Regions from separate parts of the Homo sapiens genome. Here region 1 is linked to region 2. Evidence: promoter capture Hi-C in 16 types of primary human blood cells and fetal thymus (Javierre and others, 2016). All regions are on one chromosome and are shown on one strand. The core of a region is centred on a gene start or on the middle of the fragment in contact, and the rest is flanking DNA. Distances in the headings are between cores, read along the strand shown. Region 1 overlaps CHRM3 (cholinergic receptor muscarinic 3). Region 2 holds the start of CHRM3-AS1 (CHRM3 antisense RNA 1).

Evidence for each region. Contacts are between HindIII fragments. The CHiCAGO score rates a contact against its expected background, and 5 or more counts as called.
Region 1: a contact is called between a fragment that was not itself captured here and the fragment with the promoter of CHRM3-AS1 in region 2, in 2 of 17 cell types (M1 macrophages and M0 macrophages). The highest score is 6.9, in M1 macrophages.

Annotation. Positions count from the first base shown.
Region 1 is chr1:239,558,687-239,566,025 of GRCh38, reverse strand. All of the region lies in intron 3 of CHRM3 (cholinergic receptor muscarinic 3), which reads right to left. Among named protein-coding and RNA genes, the nearest start is that of CHRM3-AS2, 160 kb to the left of the region's middle. The HindIII fragment of the contact is 4,369 bases long and covers 2,587-6,955 here.
Region 2 is chr1:239,894,120-239,901,427 of GRCh38, reverse strand. CHRM3-AS1 (CHRM3 antisense RNA 1) reads left to right here and starts at 1,556. Exons shown (of 2, transcript NR_046582.1): 1 at 1,556-1,664; 2 at 3,036-3,409. The region is part of intron 6 of CHRM3 (cholinergic receptor muscarinic 3); the gene reads right to left. The HindIII fragment of the contact is 7,774 bases long and covers 1-3,240 here.

The sequences.
Region 1 (7,339 bases), core at 3,522-6,021, 340 kb after region 2:
GGAGGACCACTTGAGCCCAGAAGCTCAAGGCTGCAGTGAGCCATGATCACACGACTGCACTCCAGATTGGGCAACTGAGTGGGAGACCTGTCTCAAAAAAAAAAAAAAAAAAAAAGAAAAAAGATGCTTTCAGTGAAAATCATTTTGCTCATGTTTCTCATGTGGTGTTTTAACATATATTAACATATATCATTTTCTCTATTGGAAGTGATATAAAACAAGACCAGATCAGAGGTGTTATTTTATTTTCTTAATTACTTCACCATGTTAACAAATTGCCTGAAGGTGAAGAAAATTATAACCAGAAACAAAACAAAGAGAATTATTCATCTAATTGTGAAACTTTTAAAAAGACTAAATGCAACTATTCTAAACTGCTTCCAATATAGATCACAAGGACAATTTAAGTAAAATATGTCAATAAATCTTAAAAAATAAATTCCTAATAAAAGAAATCTATTTTTGCCGAAACATTTAAAAATTAATTCCTACGTTTAATTAGCACAGAACAACACAGTTTCATAGTATGACTTCAATAATTGAGACCAGATGCAGCATCTGGGGTAAAGAGCCATTATTTTCACCCAAAATACCTTCCCTCCTGAACTATTACAGTCACAGCAACTTTGATTATATTTAACTCTAGTTAGCACCTACATTCCAATATAGTCCTCATACTGCAGTAGATTTAAAGCTACTTGAGAATCGGATACTATATGTTGCAGCAAGTAGTAGGATGAATCATGGTCCTAATTATTAGGGCCCATCCAGGATCCTAATCCCTAGAATCTATAAATGTTAACCTTATTTGGAAAAAGGGTCTTTGCAGATGTAATTAACTAAGGATCTTGAGGTGGGGAGATTATCCCGAATTATCCAAGTGGTCCCTGATGGTCATCACGTGTATCCTCATAAGAGGGAGATCTGACCCCGCCCCATAGGGGAGAAGGCAATATTGAATATGGAAGCGGAGACTGGAGTGACACAGTCAGGAGCTAAGGAGCGCCACAACCACCAGAAGCGGGAAGAGGCAAGGAAAGGATTCTCCCCTGGAGCCTCCGGGGACAGCACAGCCCTGTTAAAAGCTTGATTTTGGCCTCTGTCCTCCATATCTGTTAGAATAAATTTCTGCCATTCTAAGCCACCAAGTTTGTGGTCTTTTGTTAGAGTTGCAATAGGAAATAAGTACATGGCATTTTATTATTTTTTCCCTCCAAACTTCAAGTGCAATTTAGGATCAAGGAGAATCTTATCTGAATAGTGTATACCCTTAAAAGTGTTTTCACATACTTTTTCCTAGCTGTGTCTCCTTAATGACTGTGGGGTAAGAAAAAGGCAAAAATTCCAATGAAAAATACAATTTGTTACCTAAAAACTATAGTTGGTTGCAGTGGTTAAGATATATGGTTCTATTAATAACCACGAGACAGGAAAATAGTTTTAAACCCTTAGGTAGTATTTTGAATGGAATAATTAGTTTCTCTGTACCCAGAAAAATAGAAATGTTTTTCTTTGTGATACTTAATAAAGAGATTACATTTAAATATATTGGGATAATTAAAATACAAAAGATAATCCTCACGCAGGTAATTAACTCCATTAAAATATTCTTCCAGGCTCCCTCTAGATATAATTTTAAATTGCGTGATTTAAGCATGCTTACTTTTTCCATTCCAGTTCTCTTATCTTTTGGATATCTTATCTCTTATTTGCATCAGTTCCTCTATTTCCTTATTTGGAAGAATTAAATGCAGTTTTACAAAATGTAATATATGTTCTACTTTACATTAGGTTTATTATTTTCTCAATGCTTAGATAAAAATTTTCATCACTCTGTAAAACTAAGTTTTGAATTCAATACCGTACATGTTTTATGAATGACATAAACAGAAATTTGTTTCCTCTTATCTTTATTCAAAATTCTTCATTCTACCAAAACTTCTAAGTAACCAAAGTTAGAAATACACACATTGTCTCATTAAAGAATCTCGGAAACATCAAAATCTTGAGCTTCTAAAAATTATTTTTTGCTATTAAATTTTTACAGAAATCTGTTACAGGAAAGGCAGCATGCTTTTGAACCATTTCCTGTCCTTATTCCAGTGTTCATGAAAAAGAGGAACTCTTTAGACAAACCAGCTGCTGGATTTCCTAGAATAGTAAATTACTCCAAAACTCTTATTTCATGTGATCCTGCCACACTTTTTTTTCCCAGCAGGATTTCCTCATTTTTCACAACTATTTGTTTCTACTCTAAATTAGCTTCCTACAAATAGCCTCTCGTCAGATGAGTACTTACCTCTGCAGAGTAACCATAAATAAAGAGACCCCTTGGTTCATTACATCCACATCTCTTTAACTAAATTCACAAAGCACAACTTTTCCATTGAAATTTTGTCTCCTTCTCTTGAAACAAATCGCTGCTGTAGTACAAACAAAAAAAATCTAGATTCTGTGAACCTATTTGGAATTCTTCATGATTATTGAAAAATCTTTTAGATTTAAAAATAGCAACAATGAAAATATCATATATTTGGAGAACCAGTAGAAAGGTAACTCAAGCCTCTTTTACATTTTTTTTAAGCTTTAGCCATTCTTACTGTCCCCAAATATTGGTCATTTTAGGGACATTCTGATAAATCACTATTACATTAGCTATCTGAGATGCTTTAAGCAATTTTATGCCCACTCTGAGCTGACCTTGTCTTCCTGACTTGGGGTAAACCATTTCTGTGATGATCTCCTTATTCTTAGAAACAAACAAATTTTGATTATATAAACTAAGAGAAAAAAATGTGCACCTGGATGTATCTCTTGGTCTCTTTCCTTGTTGCCCTACACCAACTTCAGAATAAAGAAAACATTGTTCTTCTTGAGAAGGCAGTGAAACCTCTGAAGCTGTAAACATTTCTAGAGGATAATATAAATCCCATCTGTGTGAATTATAATAATGATTATATTAATGGCATAAATAAAAGGTTTGTTGAAACTTCCAACAGCAGTGTACTGTTTCTTTGCCTATATACGTGATGAATTTCAGTTTATTCCATTTCGCTACCTGTAACATTTTTCTTTACATGGTGAAAAACATAAGTCCTGTCTAAAATGAATAACACCTTTTTTTTTTTTTTTTTTTTGGAGACAGAGTTTCACTCTTTTGCCCAGGCTGGAGTGCAGTGGCGCGACCTCGGCTCACTGTAACCTCCACCTTCCAGTTTCAAGTGATTCTCCTGCCTCAGCCTCCCCAGTAGCTGGGATTACTGGCGTCAGCCACCACGCCCAGCTAATTTTTGTATTTTTAGTAGAGATGGGGTTTCACTATGTTGACAAGGCTGGTGTTGAACTCCTGACCTCATGATCTACCTGCCTTAGCCTCCCAAAGCGCTGGGATTATGGGCGTGAGCCACCAAGCCTGACCCAACGCTTTAAAAATAATAATAATAATAATCATCATCATCATCATCTAAATAGAACACTACTATCCAGGAAATACATGAAAACTTTACCATTAAGTCTCAGGAAGTTTGAATGATAGAAATGATAGAGACAATCCTTTTATTTTTATGGTGAAGTGTTAACAGTTTGGGCTTTGGCATCCACCAGCCACGAGTTTAGATTTCAGTTCTATAACTTATTAGCTCCACGATGCATAACCTTTCAGAAGCCAGCTCTTTATCTGAAAAAAGGGGGATATCTCTTATCCATTTTGTAAAGTTGTTATGAGGGATCACGTGACTTGAAATGTGCGAATACTGAAGTGTAAACACAGATAACTGGGTATTGTCTCTAACACATGCCTCCCTTCCCCTTCCCCTTTGTTTCAGAAGTCATCAGGTACACATGGCCTGCACGGACTGATCAGAAATGATTGTGGTTGCTGTCGAGAAAGATGTCTTAAATTTCAAAATGTTTTAGCCTCATTAGTAGATGCCAACATGACAATTAAAACAATTGTCAAACATTGTATCCTGAACCGTCAAAACAAAATTTACGTATGCAAGGTTGGCCAGCAGGTGCAGCAACCTTGGCCCTCCCGTACAATGGACGACGGGAAAGAAAATTGGTATCTTGGAAGGATGGAGATGGTAAATTATAAGGCAAAAACCTAAAAATTTTTCTTCACCAAGAAATTCTGTTTACACCATTTATACTAGTAAATCTTCAAGGATATATTTTTTCATTTAGTAAATATTTAGTGTCTACTATGTGATAAGGACATTTCTAGGTTCTGAGAAGAAAGTGAACAAGAGTCCAGGTATTTTCTCTACTTTTCATAGAGTTTACATGCTAATGAGGAAATATATGATAAACAATTATTAATTATCAGTAATATTATCTATTAATAGATGGTATTAATATTAACAATCTTTTGATTATCTGTTATAGATATTGATAGTATCTATTAATAGATACTATTACTATTATCTATTCTTAATATATAATATTCTTTATGAAGAGAAGAAAATGTAAAGCTCTGTTTAAGAACGATGAGGGTGCTCATTTCATAGTCAATAGGCAGGAAGCTGCTAAGAGGAGATGGAACTTCCAGTGAATCTTGAATAAAAAACAGGAGGCAACCATAATCTGAGAAAATAGCATCTCAGCCCACGAGGACCAGGAGAAGGTAGTCTGGTAGATTACATATGTAGTGAAAGAGGAAGGTGAGACGAGATGAAGGGGAACTTCTGGGCAATGGCCATACAGGGCTCCGCAAGCCACAAATGAGAGTATAGATTTTATTAAGGTATTTTGAAAGCCCCTGTAGGATTTTAAGCAAAGGAGTGTTATGTTACGTTAATGTCATGTGACATTAACTGAATTTCTTGTCTTGGACAATCACATCATGACTCTGCAGATAACTGATTAAGGACAGCACAAGAGTGGTCCTGCGGAAAACAGGTGAAAGGTTACTACCTACACTGGTCCAGGCAAGTTGAGATGAACCAGATGGTGCCTGCAGAGTCACAAAGAAGGAGGCAGATGTGGGATGTGTTCTGAGACTGATTCAATAAAACCGACTAAGGAACTGAATGTGGGGAATGAAGAAAGGAGGAAAATAACACCTATGCTTTTGCCTAGATCTGGGGAAGGAGTGAAGCCTGGGAAAGGGAGATGAGACAGATGGGGGAGAAACAAGTTTGGGGGAGGTGTGGGAAAACCTAGAGTTCTGTTTTGGACATGTTAATTTAGAGCCACTTGTTAGGCATTCAAGTAAAGATGTCATCCTTGTTGTGTGGAACCTGAATTTTAGGGGTCACGGATGGAGCTGACATATGGGGAAAATGGACCCAGACACAGTCAAAGATTTACATGCCAGGATATATATATACACACACACATATATATATATACACACATATATATTTAAAGTTGCAATACAGAATGAATGAAAAGAAACTAAATATGGGATAAATAAATTTTGGTACATTCATACGATACAATGTTACGTATCCTTGGAAGTATATTTTAGAATAATACTTAGAGAAATGTAAAAATGGGAATGTATTGTTATACTATGAAGAGGTATGAGGAATGTGATCACACATTTGTGCAAATATATAAATTACCTAAGTCTAAAGTATAAAAATATTTGTAAGAATTACTTTGGAGTTTTTCAGTGGTGAGATTATAGGTGTTTTGTATTGTTTTTGCATTTTTTGTATTTTTAAGATTACAACATATGGAAAAATTAATGACCATAAAAAGAAATATCATTAAAAAACATCAGCGTATGAGTTGCAATAAAACAGCTGAAGACACTAAAGAAAGATGTAGCAAAAATACTTTAACAATATTTCACTTAATTTCCTAACATTATTGTAAAGTTACTGAGAATCTGAAAGTATTGATATATTTTCTAATTAATTTGCCTAAATAGTGGTATTTAAAAATACTTATCAAACACAAATTTCTCAATACTTTTTCCTGTGTTTTACACACATATATTTTTTGCCCCAGATAATTTTGCACACAAAATGCCATACTTCATCATTTGTATATTTTATTATGAATAAGTGGTATGTAGTTAGTCCATCTATCACTCTGAATTTTATTTGAAAAATTGCAATGTGACATCTACTGCGGTCAATGCCAAAATAAATGGACAATAGCCATACAATGTATTGTTTCACCTTAAAGGTTAATTTTGATAACACCTTGGAAATGATCAATTGTGCAAGAATTGGGTCCTGCGATAACAAGAAGGGTAAGATCCTGGACAGGGCATTAATTCCATAACTCCAGTGGTATAGTGTTATGTAGATGTGGAGTTATACAATTAACGCACTATGTATCCTTAACAAGTTGTAGGTTGTCACCATCATCTAATAACATGTAACAATTTAATCAATTCAGGTACAAGAAATATTGGCCAGCTTCTCGCAACTAACAATAATGTCTTAGTTTTGAGGTTAAAGCCATCATCAGGCTCTCTCTTGAAATTCGTCCTAACTTTCCCTGAAATCTTATGAGGCATATTTGATATTTTAAAAATTAGCCCCTCCGAATTTGGGTTTAAAGTTTGATGTAGTGGTTGAACTGTCAGTTGTTGGCATTCGATTAAATATTCTTGACTGAAATGAAGCAATTAGGGAAAATGTGTTTTATATGGTCAAGGTTAAGCTGAAATGAGAGATTCAATTTTAAACACAAGGATTTAAGTACTCAAGGGCATGTCAGAACATACTTTTAGGAAGTACACTGTAGAGATTCTCAGATTGGACAAATAAACTGATGAACCCAAGAAATATGATCCTGACTCAGGCTCACAGCATCAACTGGTTACCAATAGCTCCTATAGACTGTGAATAATAGAGACAGCCTGCTTTGCTAGTATGACCTTTTCACAGTTTATAAGACTCATAGACTTACAGAAAGGAAGTGAAAGGGAAAGTGATAAGAGATGGCTGTTGTGCAAAACATTTGTGTTATACTTATTACAAGTCTAGCAAAAGCTTATGTCAGTGGTTAAGGAAGTGCATATTGGTGGAAAAGGACTGGCAGATACCCTAGATGTTTTTGGGCACAAAAATTCACTTAGTCCATATTTATGGAGTATCCTCCAGGTGCCCTTCCTGTGAAAGCTTCTATCTAGGGTAACAAAGGAAAATCAGCAATACATATGCAAGAGGAGCTCAGAGACCAGTTAGGGAAAGGAGAATAAACATAAAGTAGATGATTTCAGTTTTATTTGCTAAATACTTAGTAAATAAAGCAAGAAGTTGACTCAGGTGACTCATAATTCTTACATAAGGCAAAAACTTTTGACCTGTATATTAAAGGATGAGTAGACAGTTTCCAGGTAGAGAGGGAAAGGCATTCTAGGAAAAGAGAACATGGG
Region 2 (7,308 bases), core at 307-2,806:
TTTTGGAGGAGGAAGATAAAATTAGGATTGAGGGTGATGGACAAAGAAGACTTCAGCTCAATCTGTAATGTCCCGAATGAGGAAAAAAAAAAAAATCCCAAAGTTTCCGAAGCCAGAAGGAAGTGAAGAAGAGAGTTAAAAGGGGGCAGATATTGGTGATGGTTGCCAAGGAGGGCTTGGAATCTTGCCTTACACTCTGCTGTTGCTTTTAAATGCGGAGAAGGTTGGAGGAAAAAGAGGTCGCATCTGATAATATTGATCAGACTCAAAGAAGATGCGTGCCTCATGCCCTCCTGTCTGGTGCCCAGAGGTGGCAGCTGCTCAGAGGTCACTAGGTCACCATGGCAGAAGCACCGATGACCTGAATGCCTGTGGTAATGAATTCTTCCTTAGTCTTGCCTAAGACGTAAACTCAGCTGGGCGAACACCTTGATTTCAGTGTTGAGACCCTGAACAGGGAACCTTGTTGTAAGCTGCTAAGTTTGTGGTGATTTGCTATGCAGAATGGGGCCACAACAGGCAGCTTCGAGGCAAGTTATACAAAAATGAAATGACTGATCTTGCTCGCCTGAATACGATGGATTAAAAATATTATACACACTTTACATGTAAATGAGCAATGTATTGTCTCACACATAAGAAATCCTAGTTCTACTTGGGTTGTGGATTTTCTCCCCTCATTGCTGTAGGGGCCTTTCTTGCCTTCGTCCCTCCAAGGGAATATTCAGCACCTGCCATACCTCTTCTGAGCACACTGTCTTTTCTCGACAGCCCAGGTGAGGTACATTCCTGGTGCTCCCCAATCTATTCATATCAAGGCTGTACCCAGCTTTATCAAGGAAGACAATGTCCCTATAGGGCCAGGAAACAAGATCCCTCCCACCTTCTTTCAGACATTTTCTATGAACTTCTCCGAGGCCTTGGGGCCACGGCCTCATTAAAAGGACTGTTCTCTGGAGGCTCAGCAACGGAGGTCCTATCGGTACCCAGGATGACAACAGGAGAAAGTGATCAGCCGGTCATAAGGATTTCAAAAAAAAAAAAAAAAAAGAATATCTAAAAGTACTTATTAGAAATGAGAGTCACCAAATGTTTTACTTCAGGTATATCTATTATTTCATAGGTAATATGTAACTTCCTGAGAATCAAGACTGTAGGTCAGACCCAAATGAAGCAGTGATAACCCCGGGCTAAGAGCCCTCAGTTTACGGTGATTTTCTGAGTAGAAGGTATCATTCCTATGTTTAATATTCCTTCCTCATCCTGACTCAACAGCTATTCCATAGCATTAGGATATTTTGAGTCAAGGAAGTTCACAGTCTACACTCATTGAATTGAATGATATTGGTGAGGGGACCTACAGGAAGTCTTTCCTTGTAATGCTCAGGAATAAACAGGTGGTGGGAACAGAGATCCTTGTCAGCCCAGTGACCTTCGCACTTTATAAGTAATCCCAGGCAAGAGTTCTAGGAATGCAGCCTGCATGAGGGCTCAGGGCATGGTCAGATAGGGGCAGACCAGGGGCAGGTGCCTGGCTCCTCTCTGGGGTCAGAGCAGGCTCCCTCCCTGCCAGGTTGTGGGTGCAACATTCAGGGAATGGTTACTGAAGTGTTCCAGGCACCAGAGCTCAGGCAAGAAGTGGAAAACTGCGCAAGATCCTGCACGTGGGTACCATCAGTGCCTTTGTGGGGAAGTTACATCTGTGTGTATGTATATATACTTAGTATATATATACGATATACTTAGTGTACTTATATCGTGTATATATACTATGTACTTAGTATACTTACTTATATACAATGTACATATACTTAGTGTATATATACATTGCATGTTGAACTTACTATATATATACACACACACTACACACACACACTAATTGGTCCGCTAATTGGCTGTTGCATTTTGAACTTGGTATGTGTGTATATATACATGTGTGTGAGTATATATACACACATATATACGTATGTATATACATATCATATACATACATGTGTATAGATATGTGTGTATATATGTATATGTGTGTATATGTATATGTGTTTATATATGTATATATGTATTTATGTATATATACACACACACTAAATTCAATAGATATATATGCGTGTGTGTATATACACACACACACACACACACACACACACACACTGAGTTCAAAATGCAAGAGCCAATTAGTGGGCCAATATGAGAATTAAAAAAGAAAAAAATGTACAGCAAATTGAATAGGACGTATCAGAATGCATACCACATAATGACAATCAATATCACTTCATTAAATTTTTGCTCGACATACACACACGTATAAAATTATGTCTATAGTCATGATGTACGTACAATGTATTTTGTGTTGAATAATGTTGGAAAGCCACTGCAGTGGATATTTTGACATCTTTTATTAATATTTAAAAGAAGAGGGTGAAACAAAAAATGTGAAAAAAGACAAAAAAGTTTGACAGTACTGAATTTAGGAGAAATTGAAGGTTAGTTCTAGGAAATTTGCCTTCTTCCCCCTAGTTATGGCAAAAAATAACTTTTCTGGGGTTATAAGTCTGTGAAATATATAGGTAAATTTAAAAAATTTAAAAATGTGTAAATATCCAGTGTGAAATACATGTGAGATTGCTTACAGAAACGGACAAGGCCAATATACATGTGAGGCTTCTGGTTATAATGAATTCCAAGGAGATAAACTCATTTCATGTCCTCTGAGCCAACCGGGCAGTACCTACTTGGGAAAAATGTTTGAGGGCTCTCGATTTTTAAACCTGCTGAACCAATTAAAAGCGTATAAATTTTTCTAGAAGTCTAAATTAATTCTACGTCTATAATAATAATTATTTTTTTAAGTGATGATATGGGAAAAACCCAAAATATCTTTGCAACATACAGCCGTGCGTTTTTTCTCAGACCAACTATTTAGTGCCTCTTCCCTATTTGTAATCCAGTCTGCGTCATTTTTCAGGGCTTGTTTTGGGTCTCTGACTGCCTTCTTTGCTTAGAGTGTCTCTGTTTTCTGTCATAATTCACTATAGCATTCAACGGCTAAAATGACTTTTAAAACTACCTGGTGAATGGCAATACCACATCAAACCACTAGGTGGCAAAGCAGACTCGGAGAACGACCTCTCTGCCAGCAGGCGCTGAAGCAGCTACCCGTTCCCCATGCTGGTGACCAGGAACTTCAGCTTAGCTCAGTCATGCAGTTCGCGGAGGATATCAAACAGAGTCAACAAAGCTTTGCAATCAAACGTGTCTTTAAAGGGAATCCAACTTGTGAACCTGGCTCTTGATATTCATTTGAAGCTGCAAGGGGGAAAAGATGTTACCTAATATGGAGCAATGGCTCTTATTGTGAACAAAACATCTCTGAACACCAAAACCGGAATAAAATTCTATTTAAAAAGGGGAATTTTTTTTTTAGAAAGTTGATTTATCTTGCTGCCTCCTCCCTCGGTTGCCACTTTTCATGGGTTTTTACTTGATTTGATAAATATGGACCTTGACAACAACAATGCAGGGTGCTTGGAAAAGGATTTGCATCAGGACCTCTTACGTGTAGCAGTAGCTGCTGAAATAACAGTTTTTCCTCAAAAACAAAAACCTAGATTCGACTGATGTTTCCTTGCATTAGCACTCGCAAGTCTAAAACCTTTTGTCATTAGAATATCTAAAGAAATGGCACGAAGTGAAAAGCAGGCGGGAGAGGTTCTTGTTAAATATTAGTATGACCCCTTCACCCAGAAAGGGCAGACTCCTTGTTGCTGAAGTTACTCTTTTCTGAGAGAAACAGGGAAAGAGTGCAGCTGGATTCTGTTCCACTGCAAACAGATTTGCTGATTACTGTTCAACATTTTAAAGAGGTATTTATTATTATGTGTTTTTAATACTGTGCCTTTATAGTGGAGGATAAAGAACAGTGCTTTTAAAATACCAGCTGATCTAATATAACTGTGGAAGTTATTCTGATGAAAAATCTAGTGAAAACAGTCATTTGGACTAAATATTTCTAATATGTCAGTTTAGGTACTGAAAGGACACCTGGTGAAGAAAATTCCTTTGGCTTAATATTTATGCTTTCATGATTAAGTTAGACTCGTGATCGCTTTTTTTTTCCAGGTCCATATTTATCAGAGTATTTATTTTTATATCTGGACATGTTCCACACATCTGATTTCCCTTCAGACTTCAGCCTATTTGCACGCCCCAACTCATGCACGCAGATAGAACTGTATATTTGCAAAGAGAGTAGAAGCAATGTGGGAGGCGCGCATTAAACGCCTAACAACCTGCCATAGCATGCAGGGCCAGGAAGTACACCCGATTCTGCCACGTGGGCACATTGCCTAGGCACTCTGATCCTACATCCTCATCTACAAAATGAGGATTATAATACTTGAGGATGAAATAGAATCTGTATAAAGCACCCAGTATAGCCTGACTGGCCCACAGCAGTTTCTCAAAAATGGTAAAATCAATTCCATAATTTTTCTATGGCTGGTTGACTTTACAGCAAGGTCTTTTTCATGCCTAACAAGAGCTAACATTTGTTGAGTATAAAGCAGTGGTTTTCAACCCAGGGTGACTCTGCCCTAGGGGATATTGGGCAATGTCTGGAGCCACTTTTCTTGTCACAACCTGGGGAAAATGTGCTACTGACATATAGTAGGCAGACGCTATCAATGCTGATAAACATCCTACAATGCACAGGACAGCTCCCCACAAAGAATTAAGGCTGCTAAGATGTTGATAGTGCCGAAGCTGAGAAACCCTGCTCTAAAGGGAGATCATACAGACCCAGAAAAATGTAGAGTTGTGTTTCTCAGGAAAACCAGGAAAATGTCCTGATACTAATTAATGAGGCAAACTCCACATCTCTTCAAGAATCAGGTCCCACTTCTCTGGAAATCACATTCTTCACCCACCCAGCAAAAAAGGAATCTCATATTCACGTGTTCAACTCTTCAATCATTATTTCACACAGTAAATGTGTTTGAGTACTGCCTACAAGGCTTAGACTGGGGATGTGGTTCTTGTTCTGGAAAACCACTTGTTGGCAATGCCATGAACTAAACAAAATAATTGCAGTGGAAGGAGCAGTATAGATGATTAGCTTTGCTTGAGTTGATGTGGTGGTAGCAAAGATAAGGACATTTTGTGAGTCTTGAGGAATAAGACTCCAAGCTGCCATGTAGTCAAGAGAGGACACAGCATTCCAAACAGAGGGAAGAGCCTATGTCCCCGATGCACTCTGCACATATTCCTGTTACCTCACAGAGCACTTCACTGTGTCTCTCCCAGGACGGCACAGACCCCGGAGGGACACTTTCATCTTCACCTACTCAAGTTTGTGCCTTGAGAGTTAGCATAAATGTCTTTCCCAGAGCAGACCTAGAACGATTGCCTCTACTCTGTTTTAATTGAGATGAATAGTTACATTTTGTTGTTGTTTTTTAACCTCGAGGTTCAGGGGTACATGGGCAGGTTTGTTACATAGGTAAATTATGTGTTGTGGGGGTTTGGTTTACAGATTATTTTGTCACTCATGTAATGAGCATAGTACCCAACAGGAGATTTTCAATCCTTTCCCTCCACCCACCCTCCACACTCATGTATGGCCCTGGTATATGTTGTTCCCTTCTTTGTGTCTATGTGTACTCAATGCTCAGCTCCCACTTATAAGTGAGAACACGCCGTGTTTGGTTTTCTGTTCTTGCATTACTTTGCTTAGGATAATGGCTTTCAGCTTCATCCATGTTGCTGCAAAGGACATGATCTCATTTTTTATGGCTGCATAGTATTCCACAGTGTATGTGTACTACATTTAAAAAAAATCCAATCTATTGATGAGGGGCATTTAGGTTGATTGATTCCATGTCTTTGCTATTGTGAACAGTGCTGTAATAAACATATGCATGTATGTGTCTATAGGGTAGAACAATTTGTAATAGTTACCCTTTGGATGGGAGAACCAGTAACAGAAGGGCTCGAGAAAGCAAGATCTGTGAAAAGGCAGGAATGGAGGTTGTGTCCGATGAGCAGTAACTTGGAAGGATGGAGAGCAGAGGACTGGAGACTGCAGAGGCAGCTGGAAGGAGGGCTGAGAAACAAATTCGGGCTTTCTCCCAAACTCTCCCAGTGGCACTCGGGAGGGATGGACCCAAGAAACGAAAGAATTCAGTGGAATCCATCTTTCAGCATAGAAAGGAAGTACAGCCAGGAGAAGGGGCATCCCTACATACGTGGGCAGTTGTCGTGGAACTGCTTCAACCTCTACTGCTGCAGAGAAAAAGAGGTGAGTTCTCCGTAAACACATCATCTCTTCAAATGTCCATCTGGTCATGGACACAATCCAGCTAGATTTTTCTGAGGAAAAGGAGCATCACATAATACAGAAATTGTTTTGTAATTGTTCTTTGCTGCCCTCGAATTTATCTTCCAGGGCAGTGAATGCTTGCCATATACTGAAGGCACCAGAGGGTCTTGCAAGGTGCTAGACAGCCTGAATTTGTGTCCTGGCTCCTCACTTATGAGCCGTGAGACTTCAGGTTAGTTATTACATCTCTGGGATCCTCTGTGCAACACCAGAAAATGAAGACTAGTAATACTGTATGGTTAAGTGATTCAATGAAACAGGAGGTAAAGCCTCTGATACAGTTGTTGGTGGGTTAAGCTTTATAAATGGAAGACTTCTCGGTCGGGCGCGGTGGCTCATGCCTGTAATACCACCACTTTGGGAGGTCAGGGTGGGCTGATCACTTGAGCGCATGAGTTCGAGACCAGCCTGGATAACATGGTGAAACCCCGTCTCTACTAAAAACAAAAAAATTAGCCAGGTATGGTGGCACACACCTGTAATGCCAGCTACTTGGCAGGCTGAGGCACGAGAATCGCTTGAACCTGGGAGGCAGAGGTTGCAGTGAGCTGAGATCGTGCTACTGCACTCCAACCTGAATGACAGAGTGAGACTCCATCTCAAAAAATAAAAATAAATAAATAAATAAAATAAAATAAATGGGAATCTTCTCTCCTGCTTCCTGCACACACTCACGGCTGAGGTCCCTGGGCATGCCGGCAAGGCGGCCACCACAAGGCATCCACTTGCGCCTGTGCCATTCCCTGTTTAAATATTTGAAATATCCCTTGTTGAATATATACGTTTTTATTTTACTATTAGGTTGTTCATCCCTTGAAGACAATATCAAAAGCTTTTTTCCTTTTCCTTCCTTTATTGAGTTTCCAAATCTGTCTTAGACTCTCCAACTGTGATGAAAATAAAGTGGTTCCTTAGTAGATAAAATGTTTAGT